Linked DNA regions of Homo sapiens: region 1 is linked to region 2. Evidence: promoter capture Hi-C in 16 types of primary human blood cells and fetal thymus (Javierre and others, 2016). All regions are on one chromosome and are shown on one strand. The core of a region is centred on a gene start or on the middle of the fragment in contact, and the rest is flanking DNA. Distances in the headings are between cores, read along the strand shown.

Region 1 (6,615 bases), core at 248-2,747, 260 kb before region 2:
GTATTTTTTGTGATTCATTTGAGTTTAAGTTGTATAAGTCCTAAGAATACTTCAACATGTATTTCTAAGAGCCAGGGTATTCTCTTGCATAACCACAGTAAAATTAGCAGTCAAGAAATTTAACAATTGGTACGGTGTTGTTATCTAATTCATAGTGCAGTTTCAACAGTTGTCCCTATAATGTCCTTTATTGCCCTTTTGTTTTCCATGTCCAGTATCCAGTCCTGAATCGCCATGAAATTATCATATTTCTTTAGTCTCCTTTAATCTGGAGTACTTTGTTAACCTTTCATTGTCATTCTTGACATTGATCTTTTGGAAGAGTACAGATCAGTTATTTTTTTAGAATGTCCCTCACTTTTTACTTGTCTGAAATTTCCTCATGGTTAGATTCAGTTCATGCATTTTATGCAAGGATAACAAAAAAGTGATTTTTATTTTTCTCAGTGCAGCATATTAGGAGCAACCTGATGTCAGTTTGTTCTAATATTGCTGATAACATCAAACAGTTGGTTTAGTTGGTATCTGCCAGATTTCTCTACTGCCATGATACTGTTTTTCTCTTTGAAGTTAATATTTGTTGACAATGTGTTAATATCCTGTTCCTCATCAAACTTTCACCCACTAGTTTTAGCGTCCAGTGATGACTTTCCAACTGCATGCTTCCTTCTGTAGCTATTGATTGGCATTCTACTGTAAGGAAGACCTTTCCCTCCTCCCTCCACATCCCATTTATTTATTTGTTCAATTATTTATTTGAATGATTCATATACATATTCTTATTTAGTGGTCTGTAACTCATTACTGTTATTATCTTGATACTAAAATCATCCCAAATTTGGTCTGTGTAAACTCTTTCAAACTGGCTTCTGTGTTTTCATATGTCTCCAGAATTCTTTGAGTACCTATTTACTTTCTGGTGCAACAAGATGATCTGGGCTCATTTTGTATGGCCCACCCCTCAAATCAGCTTTTCTTCGAGGAGTATTGTTACTATTAGTGAGGAAAAAATGGTATTTGGAAATCAAGATCTGGATATATGATGTGCTTATTGTGACTGATGTGTCATTATTTCTAGGCCTACTCAGTGGCCACAGCTAGGATATGTTTGTTTGTGTGTAAATAGATATATGTATATCCATATTTTAATTTTTTATTAAACAATTTTTTTAGAGACAGGGTCTCACTCTGTCTCCTAGGCTGGAATGCAGTGGTATGATCATAGCTCACTGTAACCTCGAACTCCTGGGCTCAAGCAAATCCCCCTACCTTGGTTTCCCAAGTAGCTAGGACTACAGACATGGGCCACCATGCCCAGCTATTTTTAAAATTTTTAGTAGAGATGGGATCTTGCTGTATTCTCCAGGCTGGTCTTAACTCCTAGCCACAGGCAGTCCTCTGCTTTGGCCTCCTTAAAGTGGTAGGATTACAGATACTTATTTTAAATTTATATATCTTAGTTCGTTATGCTGCTATAACAAAATACCTGAGACTGGGTAATTTATAAACAGTGGAAATTGATTTCTTATGGTTCTAGCAGCTGGGAAGTTCAAGGCACCAGCATTCATTCTCTGGTGAGGGCCTTCTTGCTGTATCTTCGTGTGATGGAAAAGTGGAAGGGCAAAAGGGCTGACTAGCTCCTCCAGCCCTTTTTTAAATAATATTTTTAATTTTTAATTTTTGTGGGCACATAGTAGGTATATATATATTTGTGAGGTGCATGAGATATTTTGATACAGGCATGCAATGTGAAATAATCATATCGCGGCAAATAGGGTATACATCCCCTCATGCATTTATCCTTTGTGTTACAAGCAATCCAATTACACTCTTATTTTAAAATGTATAATTGTTACTATTGACTGTAGTCATCCTGTTGTTCTATCAAATAGTGAGTCTTATTCATCCTTTCAATTTTTTTTTTGTGCCCATTAACCATCCCCACCTTCCCCACAGCCCCCCATTAACTTCCCAGCCTCCAGTAACCATCCTTCTACTGTCTATGTTCATTAGTACAATTGTTTTGATTTTTAGATCCCACAAATAAGTGAGAACATGTGATGTTTCTCTTTCTGTGCCTGGCTTATTTCACCCTCTGGCTCTTTGATGAGTCCCTAATCCCATTCATGAAGTCTCTGCCCTCATGATTTAATCACCTCATAAAGTCCTCAAGTCTTAATATTAGCATTGGCAATTAAGTTTCTTTTTTTTTTTTTTTTCTTTTCTCTTTTTGTTTAGAGACAGAGTCTCACTTTATCACCCAGGCTGGAGTGCAGTGGTGCAATTGTAGCTCACTGTAGCCTTGACTTCCTGAGCTCCAGTGATCTTCCCACCTTAGCTTCGTGCGTAGCTGGGACTTTTAAGCTGGGATGCTTTAAGGTGCTTGCCACCATGCCTGGCTAGTTTTTTTTTTTTTTTTTTAATTTTTATTTGTAGTAGAGATGAAGCCTCACTGTGTTGTCCAGGCTAGTTTTGTATTCCTGAGCTCAAACAATTCTCCTGCCTTGGCCTCCCAGAGTGCTAGGATTACAGGCTTGAGCCAGGACACCAGGGCGTGATTAAGTTTCAACATGAGAATTTTGGGGACACGTTCATACCCTAGCAACATCTATGTATACACACATATATTAACAACTATTAACAATATGATTTCATATTGATTCTACCAGTGTTATTCTAACACCATGAGGGGGTGGTACTTCTTGCATCTTCCTTAGGTTGAATTTCATCAAATGCTTTTCTTGCATCTTGCCTACACTCTGTGCAAAGATATGCTGTATTTATTTCTAGAAGTTTTATAGTTTTGGCTTTAGGTTCAGATCTATGATCAATCTCAAATTATTTTTTATTCATGGTGTGAGATGGGGTTGAAGTTCATCATTGTTCTGTATTGGATATCCAACTGATCCAGCACTATTTGTTGAAAAGCAATTCCCCATTGAATTGCTTTGATGCCTCCCCTGAAAATCATTTAACTGTATATGTGTGAGTCTGTTTCTGGACTTTGTATTCTGTTCTCTTGATCTGTTTGTTTGTCTTTAGGCCAGCACAGTACTCTCCTGATTATTGTAGCTCTGTAAGAAGCCTTGAAGTCAGATAGTTTAAATTTCACTCATGTCCCTGTGAAGAGACCACGGAACAGGCTTTGTGTGAGCAATAAAGCTTTTTAATCACCTGGGTGCAGGCGGTCTGAGTCCGAAAAGAGTCAGCAAAGGGAGAAAGGGGTGGGGCCATTTTATAGGATTTGGGTAGGTAAAGGAAAATTAGTCAAAGCGGGTTGTTCTTTGGTGGGGGTCACAAGGTGTTCATTGGGGGAGCTTTCGAGCCAGGATGAGCCAGGAGAAGGAATTTCACAAGGTAATGTCATCAGTTAAGGCAGGAACAGGCTATTTTCACTTCTTTTGTGATTCTTCAGTTACTTCAGGCCATCCGGATATATATGTGCAGGTCACAGGGCATATGATGGCTTAGCTTGGGCTCAGAGGCCTAACATTCCTGTAGTCTTATATTAATAAGAAAAATAAAACGAAATAGTGGTAAAGTGTTGGGGTAGCGAAAATTTTTGGGGCTGGTATGGATAGATAATGGGCGATGTTTCTCAGGGCGGGATTAGGAGCGGCATGGGAACCTAGAGTGGGAGAGATTAAGCTGAAGGAAGATTTTGTGGTAAGAGGTGATATTGTGGGGTTGTTTGAAGGAGCATTTGTCGTATAGAATTATTGGTGATGGCCTGGATATGGTTTTGTATGAATTGAAAAACTAAACAGAATAAGAGGAGAAAAACAGGTATTAAAAGACGACAGAATAGAGTGGGCCTGTGAGGCTGGAAGGATATATTTTCCTTGGTCCAAAAACCCTTGCCTTGTGTGGGAAGAGATTGATAGGTGGAAGTTTCAGTGGGGGAGTAGGTGGGAGTGGCCAGATGAGAAGGAGAAAAACTGCTCTGTGAGATAGAAGTTGGAACGCTGGCTGCTTTTTTTAGTTGCCCTATTAGCATAAGCATTGTCCTGGGCGATGGGATCTGATACTTTTTGATGGCTGCTTTTTTAGCTACCTTATCAGCATAAGCGTTGTCCTGAGCAATGGGATCTGATGCCTTTTGATGGCCCTTGCAGTGAATGACCCCAGCTTCCTTCAGAAGTAAAGCGGCTTTGAGAAGAGTTTTTATTAAAGAGGTATTAGTGATGGAGGACCCTTGCATAGTGAGGAATTTTTTTTTTTTTTTGCCTATATAACAGCATGGTGGTGCAGGATATGGAAGGCATATTTAGAGTCAGTATAAATATTGATGTGTAGTCCTTTTGGAAGAGTGAGGGCTCAAGTTAAGGCAATGAGTTTGGCTTGCTGAGAGGTAGTGGGGTGGGCAGAAAGTATATGCATCAGGTGTGAGAAAGAAAATAGATTTTGGAAGTTATGAGAACTGTAGAGAGTGAGTTGAGCATAGTTTGTGATTTTGAAAGCCTCTGAAAGTATTAAGGCAGCGGTAGCCGCCACATGCAGACAGGAGGGCTAGGCTAAAACAGTAAGGTCAAATTGTTTGGATAAAAAGGCTACAGGGCGCGGTCCCAGCTCTTGTGTAAGAACACTGGCTTGACTGAGGTGATGGGGGCTGTCTGTGAAGCCTTGTGGCAGTACAGCCCAGGTAATTTGCTGAGCCTGATGGGTGTTAGGGTCAGTCCAAGTGAAAGCGAAGAGAGGCTGGGATGAAGGGTGCAAAGGACTAGTAAAGAAAGCATGTTTGAGATCCAGAACAGAATAATGGGTTGTGGAGGGGAGGTATTGAGGATAGGAGAGTATATGGGTTTGGCACCACGGGGTAGATAGGCAAAACAATTTGGTTGATAAGATGCAGATCCTGAACTAACCTGTAAGACTTGTCTGGTTTTTGGACAGGTAAAATGGGGGAATTGTAAGGAGAGTTTATAGGCTTTAAAAGTCCATGCTGTAACAGGTGAGTGATAACAGGCTTTAATCCTTTTAAAGCGTGCTGTGGGATGGGATATTGGCATTAAGTGGGGTAAGGGTGACTAGGTTTTAATGGGATGGTAAGAGGTGCATGATCGGTTGCCAAGGAGGGAGTAGAGGTATACTATACTACGGTTTAAGGTGGGGAGATACAAGGGGAGGATGTGTGAAGGAGGCTTTGAACTGGGGGAAAAGGCAACAATGAGGTGTGGCTGTAGCCCAGGAATAGTCAGGGAAGCAAATAATTTAGTTAAAATGTTTTGACCTATTCAGGGAGCTGGGCAGGTGGGGATAACTAAAAAGGAGTGCTTAAAAGAGTATTGTCCAAGTTGGCACCAGAGTTGGGGAGTGTAAGAGGTTTTAGAAGCGTGGTCTTCAATACCCACAACAGTTATGGAGGCAAAGGAAACAGGCCCTTGAAAAGAAGGTAATGTGGAGTTGGTAGCCTCTGTATTGATTAAGAAGGGGATGGACTTACCCTCCACTTTAAGAGTTACCTAAAGCATCTGTGATGGTCCAGGAGGCTTCTGTGGTGATCGGGCAGCATCAGTCTTTAGCCACGAAGCTGAGAAGATCTGGGAAGGAGTCAGTCAGAGAGCCTTGGGCCGGAGTTCCAGGGGCTCTGGGAGTGGCTGCTGGGCGAGTTGGATTTCCAGTGGGGTCCCGCACAGATGGGACAAGGCTTAGGAGGAATCCCGGGCTTCAGGCATTCCTTCGCCCAGTGGCCAGATTTCCGGCACCTGAAGCAAGTTCCTGGGGGAGGAGGTTCTGGAGGAACCCCTGGCAGCTGCAGTTCAGGTGTTTGGAGTTCTTGTGTGCTGGAGATGTGGCTGGGGTTTTTCTCACAGTGGAGGCAAGGAATTGCAACTCAGAAATACATTGCTACTTGGCTGCCTCTACTTTATTATTGTACACCTTGAAGGAGAGGTTAATTAAGTCCTGTTGTGGGGTTTGAGGGCCGGAATTTAATTTTAGGAGTTTTATTTAATGTCAGGAGCTGACTGGGTGTTAAAATGCATAATTAGAATGAGATGGCCTTCTGACCCTTCAGGGTCTAGGGCTGTAAAGAGTCTTAAGGGTTGCTGCTAAATGGGCCATGAACTGGGCTGGGTTTTTCATATTTGATGAAAAAGAGCCTAAACGCTAACTGATTTGGGAGAGGTCCGATAAAGAAAAAGGAGCATTAACCTTTACTATGCCTTTAGCTCCAGCCACCTTTTTAAGAGGAAATTGCTGGGCAGGTGGGGGAGGGCCAGTCGCAGAACGAAACTGTAAGCTGGACCAGGTGTGAGGAGGGGGAGGTGATAAAAGGATTGTAGGGTGGCGGGGCGGAGGCTGAGGAAAAAATGGAAAGACTTGGGACTGTCTTCCCAAGTCCATGACCAGCGCTGGAGTTTTGGGTCCACGGATAAAACACGTTTCCTATGTCTCTACCAGAAAAGCAGCCTGGGGAGGAGGGGAGAGGTCAGATGGGTCAGTAGAAAAGGAAGATTCAAAAGACTCAGAGACGCTTGGGGTTGGGACTGAAGGGACAGGCGGGAGGGAAAGAAGGAAGATTTGGGACGAGTTGCATTGGGGAACAGAGACTAGGGATGGACCGATGTGTAAAAGAATGCCTGGACGTCAGGCACCTCAGACCGTTTGCCTATT
Region 2 (6,603 bases), core at 3,722-6,221:
AGAGAGCCCAAAAAGCAATCCTAAGCAAAAAGAACAAAGCCAGAGGCATCACATTACCTGGCTTCAAACTATACTAATAAGACTACAGTAACCAAAACAGCATGGTGCTAGTACGAAAACAGATACCTACACCAGTTGAACAGAATAGAGAGCTGAGAAATAAATCTGCACACTTACAGCCATCTAATCTTTGACAAAGTTGCCAAAAGTAAACAATGGGGAAAGGACTCCCTAGTGAATGAATGGTCCTGGGATAGCTGACTAGCCATATGCAGAAAAATAAAACAAGACACCTAACTTTTGCCACATACAAAAATTAACTCCAGATGGATTAAAGATTTAAATATAAGACCTTGAAGTAAAAGAATCCTAGAAGAAAATCTCAGAAACACCATTCTGGACATGGGCCTTGGGAAAGAATTTATGATTAAGTCCTCAAAAGCAATTACAACAAAAACAGAAATTGACAAGTGAGACCTAATTAAACTGAACAACTTCTGTACAAGAAAAGACACTATCAACAGATTAAATAGATAACCTACAGAATGAGATAAAATATTTGCAAATTATGCACCCAACAAAGGACTAATATCCAGAATCTATAAATAACTTAAACAACTGGACAAGGAAAAAACAACCCCATTGAAAAATGGGCAAAAGATATGAACAGACACTTCTCAAAAGAAGACATACAAGTGGCCAACAAATGTATGAAAAAAGGATCATCATTACTAATCATCAGAGAAATGCAAGTCAAAAACCACCCATGGTAGCTAACGCATGCAATCCCAGCACTTTGGGAAGCCGAGGCAGGTGGGTCACCTGAGGTCAGGAGTTAGAGACCAGCCTTGCCAATATGGCTAAACCCTGTCTCTACCAAAAATACCAAAATTAGCTGGGTGTGGTGGCAGGTGCCTGTAACCCTAGCTTCTCAGTAGGCTGAGGTAGGAGAATCACTTGAACCCAGGAGGCAGAGGTTGCAGCGAGCCAACATTGTGCCACAGCCTAGGTGACAGAGTGAGACTCTGTCTTAAAAAAAAAAAAAGAAACCCCAATGGGCTACCATCTCACACATCAGAATGGCTATTATCAAAAAGTCAGAAAGCAACAGATGTTGGTGGAGCTGAGGAGAAAAGGGAATGCTCATGCATGGCAGTGGGAATGTCAATTAGTTCAGCCTCTGTGGAAAGCAGTTTGGAGATTTCTCAAAGAACTTAAAACAGAACTACCATTTGGCCCAGCAACCCCATTACTGGGTATATATCCAAAAGAGAACAAATTATTCCTCCAAAAAGACACATGCACTCACATGTTCATTGCAGTACTATTCACAACAGCAAAGTCATGGAATTGACCTAGGTGCCCACCAACAGTGAATTGGATAAAGAAAATGTGGTACATATACTCCATGGAATGCTATGCAGTCATAAAAATGAAGAAAATCTTCAGTGCCATCCCCATCAAGCTACCAATGACATTCTTCACAGAATTGGAAAAAACTACTTTAAAGTTCACGTGGAACCAAAAAAGAGCCCGCATTGCCAAGTCAATCCTAAGCCAAAAGAACACAGCTGGAGGCATCACGCTACCTGACTTCAAACTATACTACAAGGCTACAGTAACCAAAACAGCATGGTACTGGTACCAAAACAGAGATATAGACCGATGGAACAGAACAGAGCCCTCAGAATTAATGCCACTTATCTACAACTATCTGATCTTTGACAAACCTGGCAAAAACAAGAAATGGGGAAAGGATTCCCTATTTAATAAATGGTGCTGGGAAAACTGGCTAGCCATATGTAGAAAGCTGAAACTGGATCCCTTCCTTACACCTTATACAAAAATTAATTCAAGTTGGATTAAAGACTTACATGTCAGACCTAAAACCATAAAATCCTTAGAAGAAAACCTAGGCAATACCATTCAGGACATAGGCATGGGCAAGGACTTCATGTCTGAAACACCAAAAGCAATGGGAACAAAAGCCAAAATAGACAAATGGGATCTAATTAAACTAAAGAGCTTCTGCACAGCAAAAGAAACTACCATCAGAGTGAACAGGCAACCCACAGAATGGGAGAAAATTTTTGCACCTACTCATCTGACAAAGGGCTAATATCCAGAATCTACAATGAACTCAAACAAATTTACAAGCAAAAAACAAACAACCCCATCAAAAAGTAGGCAAAGGATATGAACAGACACTTCTCAAAAGAAGACATTTATGCAGCCAAAAAACACATGAAAAAATGCTCATCATCACTGGCCATCAGAGAAATGCAAATCAAAACCACAGTGAGATGCCATCTCACACCAGTTAGAATGGCGATCATTAAAAAGTCAGGAAACAACAGGTGCTGGAGAGGATGTGGAGAAATAGGAACACTTTTACACTGTTGGTGGGACTGTAAACTAGTTCAACCATTGTGGAAGTCAGTGTGGCAATTCCTCAAGGATCTAGAACTAGAAATACCATTTGACCCAGCAATCCCATTACTGGGTATATACCCAAAGGACTATAAATCATGCTGCTATAAAGACACATGCACACGTAGGTTTATTGTGGCACTATTCCCAAGAGCAAAGACTTGGAACCAACCCAAATTTCCAACAATGATAGACTGGATTAAGAAAATGTGGCACATATACACCATGGAATACTATGCAGCCATAAAAAATGATGAGTTCATGTCCTTTGTAGGGACATGGATGAAGCTGGAAACTATCATTCTCAGCAAACTATTGCAAGGACAAAAAACCAAACACCTCATGTTCTCACTCATAGGTGGGAATTGAACAATGAGAACACATGGACACAGGAAGGGGAACATCACACACTGGGCACTGTTGTGGGGTGGGGGGCTGGGGGAGGGATAGCATTAGGAGATATACCTAATGCTAAATGACGAGTTAATGGGTGCAGCACACCAACATGGCACATGTATACATATGTAACTGACCTGCACGTTGTGCACATGTACCCTAAAACTTAAAGTATAATAATAAAAAAAAATAAATAAAAATAAAAAATAAAAGAAAATGAAGAAAATCATGTCATTTGCAGCAACATGGATTTGGCTAGAGGACTTTATCCTAGGCAAACAAATACAGAAACAGAAAATCAAATACCACATATTCTCACTCATAAGGGGGAGGTAAACACTGGGTACTGATGGACATAAAGATAGCAACAATAGACACTGGGGACTATTGGGGTGGTGAAGGAGGGAAGGGAGAAAGTGTTGAAAAACTGTTGAGTACTATTCTCAGTATCTGGGTAATGGGACCATTCATACCCCAAACCTCAACATCACACAATATACCCAGGTTACAAACTTGCACAAGTGCCCTCTGAATCTAAAATAAAAGTTGAAAAAGCAAAAATAAAACAGTAAACAACAACAACAACAAAACAGCAAAACCCTCAATAAATACATAAATAAAAATATAAATAAATGTCTTTGCCAGAGCTTTTTGTTTTTTGTGTGGCTTTGAGTTAGTATCTGGGGTCACGTTGCTTTTAAGCTGTTTGCTATCAACTGCATCCTATCTAATATTTCTTTTTCTTAATAGTAAACCACTCAATTTTTGTGAGGAGATATTACATTGTGGTTTTGATTTACATTTCTCTAATGATTTCCTTTCCAGTTTGGATGCTGAGCATTTTTTCTTATGTTTTTTGCCCATTCATATATAATTTTAAAAGAAATGTCTATTCAAATCCTTTTGCCATTTTAAAATCATATTATTTTTAAATATTGTGTTGTAGAAATTATTTATATATTCTGGATATTAACTCTTTATCAGATATATAATTTACTAATATTTTCTTCCATCCACAAGTTTTTTTTAACATTGTTATGTCCTTTAATGCATAAAAGTTTTAAAAAGTTTGATGTAGTCCCAATTGTCTATTTTTTCTTTTGTTGTCTGTACTTTTGGTGTCATATTAAAAAATAATTGCCATATCCCCTTATTCTAAGAGTTTTATAGTTTTAGATCTTCCATTTAAGTTTTAAATCCATTTTGAGTTAATTCTTGTATATGGCATAAGACAAAGTTTCAACTTCACTCTTTCATGTGTGGATATCCAAGTTTCCCAACACTGTTTGTTGAAGAGAATGTTCTTCCCTCATTGAGCGGATCTGGAATGCTGTAAATATTATTTGACCATATATGTGGAGTTTTCTTTTAATGGGTTCTTTATTCTATTCCATTGGTCTATATGTCTCTCTTTAAGCCAGTGTCATGCTGTTTTAATTACTGTAGTCTTGTAACATGTTTTGAGATCACGGAGCATGAGACCTTCAACTCAGTTAGTTTTCAAGATTGTCTAGTCAGAGTATATATGAATATTTAGATAAATTTTTCTCTTTTTTCAAAAAATGCAGCTTAGATTTTGATAGGGATTACATATAATTTGTAGACTGCTTTGGGTTCTATTGACTTTTCAAATTAATACATAATGTTGTACAGATTTGGGGAATACATCTGATATTTTGGAGATCTTAACATTAAATCTTCCAATCCATGAATACCAATGTCTTTACATTTATTTGTGACTTCTTTCAGTACTGTTTTGTAGTTTTCAGTGTACAAGCCTTTTATTTCCCTGGCTAAGTTTATTCCTAAGTATTTTACTATTTTTGATGGTATTGTAATTAAATTATTTTCTTAATTACCTTTGGATTGTTTATAGTTAATTTATAGAAAGGCAACTGATTTTTGTGTGTCGATTTTGGATCCTGCAACTTTCCAGAATTTGTTTAATAGTTCCAACAGTTTTCTGGATTTTATGCATATATGCATCTAACAGTTTTCTAGATTTTATGCAGGAGTCTAGGATTTTATGCATATAGGATCAAGTCATCTGTGAGCAGAGATAATTTTACTTTTTTCTTTTATTCTTTGGATGTCTTTTCTTGCTTAATTTTTTTTTCCTAATTGGTCTGCTTGGAAATTCAAATACTATATTGAATAGAAGCGAAGAGACAGAGTATACTTGTCTTGTTCCTAATCCAGAAGAAAAGTTTGAATCTTTTACCATTGAGTGTAAGTTTACCTGTGGATTTTTCATATATGGCCTTTATTATGTTATTTTCCTTCTATTCCTAGTTTGCTGAGTGTTTTCGTGATAAAAGGTGTTAAATTTTGTTAAACATTTTTTCTACATCAATATAAATGATCATGCTGTTTTGTCCTTTATTCTATTACTATAGTGTATTACATTGATTTTTGCATGTTGTATTATTCTTTTTTTTTGAGATGAAATCTCATTCTGTCATTCTGGCTGGAGTGCAGTGGCATGACCTCAGCTCACTGCAACATTTGCCTCCTGGGTTCAAGGGATTCTCCTGTCTCAGCCTCCCAAAGTGCTGGGATTACAGGCATGAGCCAGCACACCCTGCCACATGTTCTATCATTCTTGCATTCCAGGAATAAAGCCAACCTGATCATCACAAATATTGGTCTGTAGTTTTCTTTTCATGTAATGTCTTTGTTTGACTTTGAAATCAGGGTAATACTGGCCTCATATAATGAGCTTTGAAGTGTTTTTTATATTCATTTTTGTAAATGACTTTGAGAAACATTGGTTCTAATTCTTCCTTAAATGTTTGGTAGTCATCCGGTTCTGGGCTGTTGTTTGTTTGGAGGTTTTTGAACCAGTTTAATCTCCTTCGTAGTTATAAGTCTGTTCGTTTTTTCTACTTCTTCATGATTCACTCTTATTAGGTTGTATATTTCTAGAAATTTATGCACTTCTAAATTATCCAATTTGTTGACATATAATTAACTGTTGATGGTATTTTCTTATAATCCTTTTGATTTCTATGGCATGGGTTCTAATGTTCTCTTTTTTATTTCTGATTTATTAGTTGAATCTTTTTTCCTTAGTTAATCTAGCTAAGCATTTGTTAATTTTGTTGGTGTTTTCAAAAACCACCTCTTAGTTTTGTTGATTTTTTTCTATTGTTTTTATATTCTATATTTCATTTATCTCTGATTTAATCTAATCTTTAGGATTTTCCTCCTTCTGCTAGCTTTGGGTGTAGTTTTTTTTCTCTCCTAGTTTCCTGAGGTATAAAGTTAGGTTGTTGATTTGCAAACTTTCTTCTACTTCTTTTTTTTTTTTTCTTAAGTTGTGGAGATGGGGTCTTGCTTTGTTGCCCAGGCTGGTCTCAAATTCCTGGCCTCCAGAAGTTCTCCTCCCTCAGCCTGTCAAAGTGCTGGGATTGCAGGCATGACCCACCATGCCTAGCCACTTTCTTCCTTTTATAATGCACATATTTATAGCTATAAAATTCTCTGTTAGCACTGCTTCTGCTGCATCTTACACATTTTGGTACATTGTATTTTTATTTTCCTTTATCTCAAGATATTTTCTAACTTCCCTTGTGATTTCTTTTTTGACCCATTGCTTGTTGAAAACTGTGTTGTTTAATTTTCACATATTTGTGAATTTTTTGTTTTCCTTCTGCTACTGATGTCTAGTTTTATGTCATTTTCATCAAAATAGATATTTTGTATAATTTCAATCTTTTAAAATTTGTTACAAGTTTTTTTGTGGTATAACATGTGATTTATCTTTGGGAATATTCC

Evidence for each region. The method cuts DNA at HindIII sites, captures the fragments that hold promoters and counts their contacts. A CHiCAGO score of 5 or more calls a contact.
Region 1: a contact is called between a fragment that was not itself captured here and the fragment with the promoter of OR13A1 in region 2, in 4 of 17 cell types (M2 macrophages, monocytes, total B cells and 1 more). The highest score is 8.3, in M2 macrophages.

What each region holds. Positions count from the first base shown.
Region 1 is chr10:45,572,579-45,579,193 of GRCh38, reverse strand. It overlaps a transcript of MARCHF8 not described here. Among named protein-coding and RNA genes, the nearest start is that of MARCHF8, 41 kb to the right of the region's middle. RefSeq lists an enhancer at 3,682-4,342. The HindIII fragment of the contact is 3,334 bases long and covers 1-3,164 here.
Region 2 is chr10:45,313,976-45,320,578 of GRCh38, reverse strand. OR13A1 (olfactory receptor family 13 subfamily A member 1) reads left to right here and starts at 4,971. Exons shown (of 4, transcript NM_001004297.3): 1 at 4,971-5,055. The HindIII fragment of the contact is 10,818 bases long and covers 1-6,603 here.